Regions from separate parts of the Homo sapiens genome. Here region 2 is linked to region 1. Evidence: promoter capture Hi-C in human tissues and cell types (Jung and others, 2019). All regions are on one chromosome and are shown on one strand. The core of a region is centred on a gene start or on the middle of the fragment in contact, and the rest is flanking DNA. Distances in the headings are between cores, read along the strand shown. Region 1 holds the start of KRTAP27-1 (keratin associated protein 27-1). Region 2 has its middle 3.2 kb from the start of MIR4327.

Region 1 (6,554 bases), core at 4,055-6,554:
TTCCTGTACTGGAAAAGTTACTTAAATTACAGAGTAGGGAGTAAGTAAGACTCTTGAAAGTAGAAAGACAGAGTAGAACTAGGGAAGGATATCGTGGCTTAAAGAAAGATATGAGTAATTCTCTTCTAACACAAAGCAAAGTCTTGTCCTCCACAGGACAAATTTGTGCCTTTGTCCTCACTGGAAAAAGGGGGATTTACTAATGTTACTTATACCACTGGGTTATTTGAGTTTAAAATGATAAAATATGTACAAAGTGTTAGGTAAATAATAAGCACCCAATTAATAAGAGCTATTTTATGGCTCTTGACCCAGCACTGTACAGGCAAGAAGACATTCTTGATAGTCATTATGCTTTACTTCTAAGAGAAAAACATGTGGTTAAACTACCAATGTCTTGAGGTGTTCAGGATACCAATGTACAAATCCTACCATTCTTTTTAGGCAGGAAGAAGTCCCTTGGTCTATGAAGAATGCTCTGTAGCATGCATATACCCACCGGTATGTTTTGACATTGCTTAAAAATGAGTCCTGCATAGAATATCCTGGTTATGTCCCATACTGCTTACATTCTTTTCACATGGAATGAAATAATTTTCTTGGTCTCTGCCCTGGATTCAAATGCATTATAGACAATCATAAAAACAAACTGAAATTGAGGCCCAAGAGAAAAATATCAGACGAAGTATCAAATGATACCTAGCATATATTGTGCTCTTATTATGTGCCAAACAGTCCACTAAGCATTTAATTGGAATCATGCCATTTAGTTGTCATAATCATCCAATGACTTTAATATTATTATCTCCATTTTACAATAATGGAACCAAGTCTCAGAAATGTTAATTTGGGCCAGGTGCAGTGGCTCACGCCTGTAATCCCAGCATTTTTGAAGGCTGAGGCAGGTGGATCACTTGATGTCAGGAGTTTGAGACCAGCCTGCCCAGCATGATGAAACCCCATCTCTACAAGAAGTACAAATATTAGCCAGGTGTTGTGGCATGCACCTGTAATTCCAGCTACTTGGGAGGCTGAGGCATGAGAATCGCTTGAACCCGGGAGACAGAGTTTGCAGGGAGCTAACATTGCACTACTGCCCTCCAGCCTGGGCAGCAAAGTGAGACACTGACAAAAAAAAAAAAAAAAAAGAAAAAGAAAAAAAGAATGTTAATTCATCCCAGAGCACATAGCTTTTAATACACAGAATTTGGAATTGAGTAAGATCTAGTCATACTATAAGATTCATGTCCTTTTCCTTACACTAAATTTTCTACCAAGGTTTATATAATTATGGCATTCCATATTCCAATATCAAAAGTCTTTTTGTACCTGAGTCCACATAATTTCTTTCTATGAGGAGCTCTAATATGCTCCATGTTGAGTTAGATTAAATACTGGCTCCTTCTTCAGCTAGCTTCTCTTTCTAGCAGTGGTCAAGCTCAGCCTGGAAAGCTAATGTCTAGAATGATGAACAGAGTAGATGGGAAAGTGAAACTTAACATCACGTCCCTCTTTCCTGGCATTCCCCTGCTCCACAACACATACCACACATAGCCCGTTTTCGCCAAAGTCCTGTTTTCTCAGCAAGCTACACCCAGTAAAATAATATATACTTGGAAGGCACATGGAATGGGTAGGTTTTCCCTCTTGTCTTTAGAAACAGTGGTCCAAATGAATTGAGCTTTTTCTGGGCAACCCAGTTGGCATTGCAATAGTAAAAATCCTTATTGTGAATGAACTTGATCTATGTTCACATGATTGGCTGTGACTAGAATGCTGAGAAGCTGCCACGAGATAAATTCTGTCTTTACTGTTGCCAATGCTGTGTTACTGCCATCAGTGCTGTGGACAGAAGCTTTATGTCAATGTTGTTTGCTTCAGGGATGTTCTGCTATTGAGGCTGCCAAAGGCTCTGAGTACTATTGATGGTATTGAATAGTGTTTGGCCTCTCTCAGACTTCCGTCAATCCTATCCCTCTACAGAGCACCTGTGTATGTGGTGGTTTACAGATTTTAGGCTTAAGTCTTCCTCTTTGAGATGGCCTGTGTCTATCCCACTGTATTATTCAGGGCTACATAGAGAAACAGAACCAATAAAATAGATAGATAGATGATAGATGATAGATGATAGATAGATAGATAGATAGATAGATAGATAGATAGATAGACAGACTATATATAATATATATTTATCTCACTGTATATATGTGTGTGTATATATATGCATGTGTGTGTGTGTGTGTGTGTGTGTGTGTGTGTGTGTGTATGAAGAGAGAGAGAGAGTGAGTGATTTATCACGAAGGATTGGCTCACACAATTATGGAGGCTAAGAAATCTCATGATGTGTCACCTGCAACCTGGAAACTCAAGGAAACCAGTGATATAATTCCAGTCCAAATGTGAAGATCTGAGAACCAGGGGAGCCAATGGTATAAATCCAGTCCAAGGGCAGGAGAAACCCAATGTCTCTGCTCAAGTAGGCTTGCAGGAAACATAAACGGGCACATTTCTCCTTCCCCGACCATTTGTTTTATTTAGGCCCTCAATGGACTGAACGATTCCCATCCACATTGGAGAGGGCCATCTACTGAGCACACTGATTTAAATGCTTATCTCCCTTGAACACTCTCACAGACACACTCAGAAATAATGCTTAATCTGGGCAGCCCTTGGCTCAATCATGTTGATACATAGAATTACCATGGCACCCACCCTCAGAACTAACTGGTAAATTATCAGTAGCATTAGGTTTGCCATAGATTCAGAGATACTTGCCAATTTACTTCAACTAGACAGCGTTTAAGTTTCTTAATTTTCTCCCTTAGTAGATGATGCTGCCTGCATCTTCCAAAATACAAAACAGCTAATCTCTCTTTTGTTGGATGACTAGCTTTCCTAATCTCTCATGGATTTCTGGGTTTATTTACAAATCCCCACTACCTCCCCCATACCAAGTCTCTGAGCTAGCTGAGTTGCTAAATATGCTATATACATGGTAATTTTTTAAGCCTTACACTTTCAATTTATTAACTTATTAAGGCTCACAGTAGCCCTATTATTATCCTTCACTTTTGAAGTTGAAGAAACTGAGGTGGTTAAATAACTTGCACACAGTCACACAGTTGGAACTTAAACAGCCATCACTAAGCAAAGCTAAGATTCCAGCTCAAGGAAATCCATATTCAGAGTTCATGCTCTCAACCACTACCTTATTTTGCCCTGAAAAAATGTGAGATCCAAGGCCAGGCATGGTGGCTCACGCCTGTAATCCCAGCACTTTGGGAGGCCGAGGCAGGCGGATCACGAGGTCAGGAGATTGAGACCATCCTGGCTAATGTGGTGAAACCCGTTTCTACTACAAATACAAAAAATTAGCCGGGCATGGTGGCAGGCACCTGTAGTCCCAGCTACTCGGGAGTCTGAGGCAGGAGAATGGCGTGAACCCAGGAAGCAGAGCTTGCAGTGAGCCGAGATTGCGCCACTGCACTCCAGCCTGGGTGACATAGCGAGACTCCATCTCAAAAAAAAAAAAAAAAATTGAAAGATCAATTTAAGAACACACCAAAAGTTTCAGAATAGCTAAGCTACCTAAATAAAATTAATCAATTTCAAACATCTGACTCTATGGTCTTATGATGTTCATATGAGTATATTTTCCATCTTCTGTTGACTACCACCATGAGTTATTCTTTTCTGGTTCACACTATAAAAATTATAACAAGAGGATATGTTCTCTTTTCTTCTAAATATTTATACTATTTTCATTAGGTAACAAACGAAGAAACAAAAAGCCTGTAACATAACACCTGCAAAAGGATTGAATAAAAATAATAGTGTGACAAGTCCAAATTTTGCTTCCAAAGAAAGCAAATTTATTTAATACAAAGAATATTTTCCAAACTCAAAAAATACTTAAGAAATAATGAAAACAGGAAAAAAACAAACAACCAAAAAAACAACGGGAACGAAATGAAGTGAAGATTCTAAACTTCAATTCATTCTATTTAAAGGCTTCTGGTTGCTACGTGGTTATAAAGCCCATGGAGGTGAAATTCAAAATTACCTTGCTCTATTCGAACAATAGACTTAATCTTCTAGTTAATTTGAGAATGTTGTGATTCAATGGCTAAAATAACAGATGGCCAGTGAGTAGGCCTGGATTTTAGTTGTGGTTCTGATGTTATTAACTACTTGGGCAACCTCTGATAGAGTTGAACCTATCGTAATTCACAGGACTAGGTAGGCTTTTAGGTTTGGTTCCAATATTTTATGAATTTCTGAGACTAGTAGCACATTACTTAATAAACCAGATCCAATGCTAAGTATTTCCAAAGAAAACAACTTGCAGTTAAAGTGTGATGTTTCCTTTAAGTATTCATGTTATTTCCTGGCTACAGCTCTTATTGCTTAATAACAAATCGTATCCTACTGCTCTAAAATAGCTAGCATGCTTTCCAACCCCAGATTACCACTAGACATACCCAAAAGAAAAACAAGAAAAAAAATCTTGTCTTTGGAGACAGTAGTAAAATAAGACATGTTCATTTACTAACAAACACACACAACATTTTTTATTTAAAGAAATACAAAATATCTAAGTATCTCAAAAATAAATTCATCCAAATGAGAATATAAGCCATCTCCCCTACAGATCTTCACTTACTAGGCAATTGAGAACCACCAGTAACACAGCAAGTTGGTTCAACTCCTGGAGAAGATTCCAGGAGTTGTGGCTCAGGTGCAACATTGACCAGAGGTCTACAGGAACTGGATTCAGGGTTCTGAGACTGACACTGACATTGGCTAGATGCACGTTCCAGAGTTTCGAAATTTTTAGACTTAGAAGTCTTGGGTGGGCAACTGTTTCCCTTGAGGCTTGCAGGTTGGCAGCTCTGGGCTACAAAACCCATCTGCTGAGTGCTTTCTGATTGGCAAGGCTGAGAAACACAAGCCAGCCCTGCTGAAGAACTTTCTGATTGGCACGCTGTCCTTTCGCAGGGCCTGGAATTGGAGTAAGTAGTTTGGACAACTCCGGGGAAGCAGTTACTTTGCACACAGCTATCGTCTGTGAATAAGTCCTGTTCACAATTGGTCATTTGGCAGCTGGTGGTTTCATTGCAGGTTTCTTGAAAGTTGTCCAGGAAACAGGTTCTGCTATGGAAGCTGCTGGGCAAACACAATCTGTCTTCAAAGGTTATAGGATTAGTGCCATGTGTGATGGCAGAGAGTGGTGGGGCATTGTGGAAGCTCCTGAGTGAATGGCAGTGGCTATGAGGCATATTGCTAAAAATCCTTAAAGATGGTCATAAGGACTCAACATGCTGAGTTTGAAAATTAAATTCTTTGGTGCGGCGATTATATACTCAGAAACCTGGGTGTTGGCTTCTCAAGACTTCTTTGCAACTCATTGCTTAAACTAATTTGAAGGATAACATCTCATTACCACTTTGGTTATATATGCAGATGATGTCTTATTAACAAAGATGTAAGTCCATTTTGAATCTTCAAAATGGCTTTTATGTTAGCTCCAAAGATGACTCATTCAAGGTGGGGTTGGTCAAATAAGAGTCTAAACCTGTCCAACCAAGCTAACATTTTTTTTTTTTTTTGCCACCATGACTCTGCACATTGGTAAGTGGACAATGAGAAATGCATGAGGCAGTGGCCAACTGAATACTGATTAACATTTAGCACTGGTTTTGAGAGCTGCCAATGTAGCAGAATGTGGTAATTTGATGTTCAAGACATTTAAAGTTAGAATTGGATCCAGGTTGAGCCCAATCTCATTCCACTCAGATATTGTTCTCTCCAGTGGACCAGAATGTGAGAGGACTTTGTGATCACATTCCTTCTCAGTGTTCATGCAAAGTACTGAGTGTGGCCATTGCCCAATAAATACTTGTCTTTTGCCTAACATTTCGTTTCCCTAATCTCCTTGAAAGCCAAGTTTAAATGCGTCCTTTTCCTGAAGTCTTCCCCAATCTTCCCATTTAGGAGTTATTTCTTCCTTTTCTGAATTACTAATGGATTTAATTCCTTTTTTCTATACTTGACAAAGTGGTGTGTTTACTTGTGTTTGTGCTTCTCAAAGGTTGATTATTTTCCTTTATAATGAACCTTCTTCAGATATTTTTCATCTTTATTCTGTGCTTTTTTTATTGACTGCAGACAGATGATCAGTTCCTATGTTTATCGCATTAGGACACCGTTCTTAGCATAGTTTCATACTCATGGCACAGAGCCAACCAGCACAATTTCTATAACATATTCTATAATATATTTGGCTCAGCTAATGACAATAAAATAGAAGTATAGTCTTAGTGCACTAACTAGACTCCCTTTCTAAGGTCTGAAGAAGCCCAAGAACATTCAGCAATTCTCAGTAATTCTTATGCAAACACTTCCTTGAAAGACTGAGGATATTATAAATTTAAAAGGGCACATCTGAATACTTTCAGCTTTATAGGCTGCACACTCATCTTGTATACAATACCTTTGTAACACACGCAAGTCATTTATAATTTTGAATAACCACACTTGTATGTTTAAAGATC
Region 2 (6,402 bases), core at 18-2,517, 39 kb after region 1:
CCTCATTGTTTGAGACTTTTCCAGGCCCTGGCACCTCCTCTAACTTCACTACAGCTCTTCCTGCTTCAAATTCATCCATTTTATGTCTTCATCATCCATGACTTTCGTTTGAAATAAAAAGGCCAGGCTGGGCGCAGTGGCTCACGCCTGTAATCCCAGCACTTTGGGAGGCCGAGGCAGGTGGATCACGAGGTCAGGAGTTTGAGACCAGCCTTTCAAACATGGCGAAATCCCGTCTCTACTAAAAATACAAAAATTAGCCAGGCGTGGTGGCAGACATCTGTAATCCCAGCTACTGGAGAGGCTGAGGCAGGAGAATCGCTTGAAACTGGAAGGCAGAGGTTGCAGTGAGCCAAGGTCATGCCACTGCACTCCAGCCTGGGCGACAGAGTGAGATTCCGTCTCAAACAAACAAACAAACAAAAAGATTTATAAACAGCCTGCTTACACACCTCTCGGTTCTTCTTATCTCTTCTGAGACCTTACCCTTGCATTTACTGAAAACAAATAGAAAATTAAAGTAAATTCTAGAGTCATTTTCTGGATGCCTAAACTCACAATTGTTACCACGTTGTCAGATTTGCGTTCATCTTTCTCTTTTTTATTTTAAATGTTTATGGATACATAATGTTGCGCATATTAATGGGGTACATGTGATATTTTGATACAGGCACACGATGTGTAATGATCAAATCTGGGTAACTGGCATATCCATCACCTTAAACATTTATCATTTTTTTTGTGTTGAGAACATTCCAAATCTACTTTTCTAGTTATTTTGAAATATGCAATACATTATTGTTAACCACAGTTGCTGTACTGTGTTACTGAACACTAGATCTTATTCCTCCTATCTAACTATATTTTTGCACCCATTAACCAACACCTCTCTGTCCTTTCTTTCCACTACCCTTGCAAGCCTATGGTAACCACCATTCTATTCGCTATCTTACAGAGAGAGACCCCTTGTGGGCCAGTCTCTCAGTCTGATTCTTTTTCATATCTTTCCAAAGGCATCACAATAATGCATTCGTTTTTGCATAGCATTCCAGGAAATTGTCTATACATATATTTATCGGTTTATACCATTTATTGTTGTTTTAAGTTACAAAAATGCCATCTTATTGGATACATATATGTATCTGTAGCTTTCTTTTTATATTAAATTTATTTAAATAAAAATATCTAAAACATATCCAAGTTGATATTTATATATTTGTGCATTTATTATCACTACAGTAGAACTTTTAAATGTCAGGCACTGTTCTCAGCACTGTATTACAAATATTAACTCAATCCTCATAATAATTCTACATGGTACACACCACTTTTATTCTTGTTTTATAGCTGAGGAAGCTGAGACACAAACAGATTGAGTTACTTGCCAAAGCTACCCATGTAGTTAGTAGCAGAGATGAGATTTGAACTGCAATACTGACACCATTGTCAGACTTTATGCAAATAACCATGTTGCTATGATACACACATCTAGTTTATTCCTTGTTACAAATTTATAGAATTCTACTGTATAAAAATATTTTATTGATATATCGCTCTACCATTCTTGATTTTTTACTATCACAAACCATGTGGCAAGAAATATACTTCTATATAGGCCCTTGCATCTACTGTCTAGGGCTTCTGGAACATGTATATTTAGATGCAATTGCTGGACATACATAATTTCAATTCTAGCATGGTAGTTACGATCAAGGCTTTTGGATTCAGGCTGGCAGAGTTTGAATCCCAGCTCCATCACTTAGCTGTGTAACTCAGACCTGTTTTAGTTTCTCATATTTTGTTATCTTTTAGCCATTATTCTATGGAGTCATTTGTTCTTTTAAATGTATTTTTAGAGAATTTGTGCATTCTTTTTGTATGCCTTTGTCTTTCATATGTTGCTAATATATTCCTCTGGTCAGTTGTTTGACTCTTTTGTAAAGTCAGATCTGTGGATACACAGTTCCCATAAAATGAAATGCACCATTTTTAGGAGTACAGTTCAATGGGTTTTTTCCTTTCTGTTCTTTTTTTGGTGGAGGGGGCAAGGGCTTGCTCTGTTGCCCAGGCTGGAGTGCAGTAGTGTGATCATAGCTCACTGTAGCCTCCAACTGCTGAGCTCAAGTCATTCTCCTGCCTCAGCCTCCTGAGTGGTTAGGACTATAAGTGCATACCACAACCCCTAGCTATTTTTTTTTCTTTTTTTTTTGTAGAGGCAGATTCTCACTGTGTTGTCCAGTTTAGTCTTGAATTCCTGGCCTCATGCAATCTTCCTGCCTTGGCTTCCCAGTTCAATGAGTTTTGACAAACATATATAGTTATGTAATCATCAATTGATTGAGATAGAGTATTTCCATTATTTCTAGAAATTCTCCTGTGCTCCTTTGGATCAATCTGCTTCCCCAATATCTAAATTTCTGTTCCTATAGTCTTATTTTTTGAACTGCATGATAAAAGGAATTACACATTACGTTGCCTTCTGTGTTTAACTTCCTTCACAGAGCATAATGCTTTTGAAATTCATCCATGTTGTTGCATATTCCAGTAGTTTATTCCCTTTTATTGCCAAGTGGTATTTCATTGTATGTACGCTATACACTAGAAAATGGACATTTAGATGATTTTGAGTCTGGAGTTACTGTGGATAAAACTGCTATAAACATTCACATACAGATAATTTTGTGGACATATGTAATATGGTTTGGCTCTGTGTGCCCATTCAAATCTCATCTCTAATTATAATCCCCACATGTCAAGGAAGGGACCTGGTGGGAGGTGATTGGATCATGAGGACGGTTTCCGCCATGCTGTTCTGATGATAGTGAGGGATTTCTCATGAGATCTGATGGTTTTAAAAGTCCCAGTTTCTGCCTGTGTATACTCTCTTTCTCTCCTGCCACCATGTAACATGTGCCTTGCTTCCCCTTCACCTTCCACCATGATGTAAATTTCCTGGTGCCTCTCCAACCATGAGGAACTATGAGTCAATTAAACCATTTTTCTTTATAAATTACCCAGTCCTAGGTAGTATCTTCATAGCAGTGTGATAACAGACTAATACAGAGAATTGGTACCAGCAGAGTTGGGTACTGCTATAAAGATAAACTGAAAATGTGGAAGCGACATTGGAACTGGTAACAGGAGGAGGTTGGAACAGTTTGGAGGGCTTAGAAGAAGACGGGAAGATGTGGGAAAGTTTGGAACTTCCTAGAGACTTGTTGAATGGTTTTGACCAAAATGCTGATAGTGATATGAACAACGAAGTCCATGCTGAGGTGGTCTCAGATGGAGATGAGGAACTTATAGGGAACTGGAGCAAAGTCACTCTTGCTATGCTTTAGCAAAGAAACTAGTGGCATTTTTCCCCTGCTTTAGAGACCTGTGAAACTTTGAACTTGAGAGAGATGATTTAAGGTATCCGGTGGAAGAAATTGCTAAGCAGCAGAACATTCAACATGTGACCTGGCTTATTCTGAAAGCATTCAGTTATGTGTGTTCACAAAGAGATGCTTTGAAATTGGAACTTATTTTAAAAAGGAAGCAGAGCATAAAAGTTTGGAAAATTTGCAGCCTGACCATGTGATAGAAAAGGAATACCCATTTTCTGCAGAGGAATTCAAGCTGGCTGCAGAAATTTGCATAAGCAACGAGGAGCTGAATGTCAATAGCCAAGACAATGGGGAAAATGTCTCAGGGGCATGTCAGAGACATTTACAGGAGCCATTGTCATCACCGGCCTGGAGGCCTGGGAGGGAAAAATGGCTTCATACATTAGGATCAGGGCTTGGCTGCTCTGTGCAGCTTCAGGACTTGATGCCTTGTGTCCCAGAAGCTCCAGCTCCAGCCATGGCTGATAGGGGCCAGGGTATAGCTACAGCTGTTGCTTCAGAGGGTGCAAGTCCCAAGCATTGGTGGCTTGCAAGTGGTATTGGGCCTGCAGATGTGCAGAAAACAAGAGTTGAGGTTTGGGAACCTCTGTCTAAATTTCAGAGGATATATGTAAATGCTTGGAAGTCCAGACAATAGTCTGCTGCAGGGGCAGAGCCCTCATGGAGAACCTCTGCTAGGGCAGTGCAGAAGGGAACTGTGGGGTGTGAGCTCCCACACAGAGTCCCCACTGGGGCACTGTCTGGTGGAGCCATGAGAAGGCCACCATCCTCCAGACCCCAGAAATGTAGATCCACCAACAGCTTGCATTGTGTGTGTGGAAAAGCCACAGACACTCAATGCCAGCCTGTGAAAGTAGCCATGAGGACTATAACCTGCAGAGCCACAGGAGAGAAGCTGCCCAAGGCATTAGGAGCCCACCCCTTGCATCAGCGTGTCCTGGATGTGGGACATGAATTCAAAGGAAATTATTTTGGAGCTTTAATATTTAATGGCTGTGCTACATGGGGCCTGTATCCTTTTTGTTCTGGCCAATTTCTCCCTCTTGGAATGTGAACATTTACCCAATGCCTGTACCCCCATTGTATCTTGGAAGTAACTAACTTGTTTTTGATTTACAGGCTCATAGGCAGAAAAGGACTTGCCTTATCTCAGATGAGACTTTGAACTTGGACTTTGGGGTTAATTCTGGAATAAGTTAAGACTTTGTGTGACTGTTAGGAAGGCATGATTGGTTTTGAAATGTGAGAAGGACATGAGATTTGGGAGGTGCCAAGGGCAGAATGATATGGTTTGGCCCTGTGGCCCCACCTAAATCTCATCTTGAATTATAATCCCCACATGTTGAGGAAGGGGCCTGGTGGGGGGTGATTGGATCATGGGGGGTGGTTTCTACCATGCTGATCTTGTGATAGTGAGGAACTTCTCATGAGATCTGATGGTTTTGCAAGTAGTAGGTTCCCTTGTGTGCTCTCTCTCTCTCCTGCCGCCATGTAAGATGTGCCTTGCTTCCCTTTTACCTTCTGCTATGATTGTAAGTTTCCTGAGGCCTCTTCAGCCATGCAAAACTGAGTCAATTAAATCTTTTTTCTTTATAAATTACCCAATCTCAGGTAGTATCTTTAAGGCAGTATGAAAACAGACTAATACAATATGTTTTCAATTTTCTTAGGTAAATACCTATGCATGGGATTACTGGTTTATATGGTAACCACATGTTTAACATTATAAAAAACTGACAAACTATATTCCACAGTGGCTATACCATTTTGCATTCCAATAGCAATGTATGAAAATCTCACTTGTTTCACAGTCTCAACCGCACTGTATGTATTATCCTTATTATTTTGTCTATTCTAGTTGGCATGTAATGGTGTCCCATTGTGGTTTCAATTTGCATTTCTCTAATGAATAATAATATTGAACATTTCCTCATGTGCTTTTTGCCTCCCATACTTCTCCTTTAGAGGTGTCTGTTCAAATCTTTTGAACATTTTCTATGTGTGTTATCTCATTATAATTATATTCTTACTGTTTTTTTACACAGAAGACTAAGATTCAAATCCTCTATCAAAGTATATGTTTTTACAATATTTTCTTCCAGTCTGTGACTTTTAATTTCATTTTCTTATTAAAGTCTTTGAAAACAGATGTTTCTAGTTTGATGAAGACTAATTTAGCTAAAAATCTCTTGGTATATCGTGCATCAGGGTGACCTGGATGTGAGACATGGAATCAAAGGAGATCATTTTGGAGCTTTAAGATTTGACTGCCCAGCTGGATTTCAGACTTGCATAGGGCCTATAGCTTCTTTGTTTTGGACAATTTCTACCATTTGGAAAAGTTGTATTTACTCAATGTTTGTACCCCCATTGTATCTAGGAAGTAACTAACTTGCTTTTGATTTTACAGGCTCATAGGCATAAGGGACTTGCATTGTCTCAGATGAGACTTCGGACTGTGGACTTTTGAGTTGATGCTGAAATGAGTTAAGACTTTGGGGAACTGTTGGGAAGGCATGATTGGTTTTGAAATGTGAGGACATGAGATTTGGGAGGGGCCGGGGTGAAATAATACGGTTTGGCTGTGTTTTCACCAAAATATCATCTGGAATTGTAGCTCCCATAGTTCCTATGTATTGTGAAAGGGACCCAGTGAGAGATAATTGAATCATCGGGGTGGTTTCCCCCATACTGTTCTCACAGTAGTGAGTAAGTGTCAGGAGATCTGATGGTTTTATAAGGGGTTTTCCTTTTTACTTGTCTCTCATTCTGTCTTGCCTGCCTCCATTTAAAACATGCCTTTCGCCCTCCATCGTGATTGTGAGGACCCCCACCCACTTGGAACTGGGAGTCCATTAAACCTCTTTTTCTTTATAAATGACCCAATCTTGGGTATGTCATTATCAGAAGCATGAAAACAGTCTAATACACCATCTTATCTTGGAATTTTCATTGTTAGAATTTTTTTACTCTTAATTTAATTTATTTTGTAGATCCAGGGCTAGTCAGGCTG

What was found. The method cuts DNA at HindIII sites, captures the fragments that hold promoters and counts their contacts. A contact is called where the count stands out against the background at its distance.
Region 2: a contact is called between a fragment that was not itself captured here and the fragment with the promoter of KRTAP27-1 in region 1, in 2 of the 25 tissues and cell types used here (hippocampus and small bowel).

Annotation. Positions count from the first base shown.
Region 1 is chr21:30,332,390-30,338,943 of GRCh38, forward strand. It overlaps KRTAP27-1 (keratin associated protein 27-1), which reads right to left and starts at 5,305. Exons shown (of 1, transcript NM_001077711.1): 1 at 4,624-5,305. The coding sequence starts at 5,279. The coding sequence ends at 4,656. The HindIII fragment of the contact is 14,979 bases long and covers 1-6,554 here.
Region 2 is chr21:30,375,404-30,381,805 of GRCh38, forward strand. No RefSeq gene overlaps it. Among named protein-coding and RNA genes, the nearest start is that of MIR4327, 3.2 kb to the left of the region's middle. The HindIII fragment of the contact is 5,336 bases long and covers 1-3,935 here.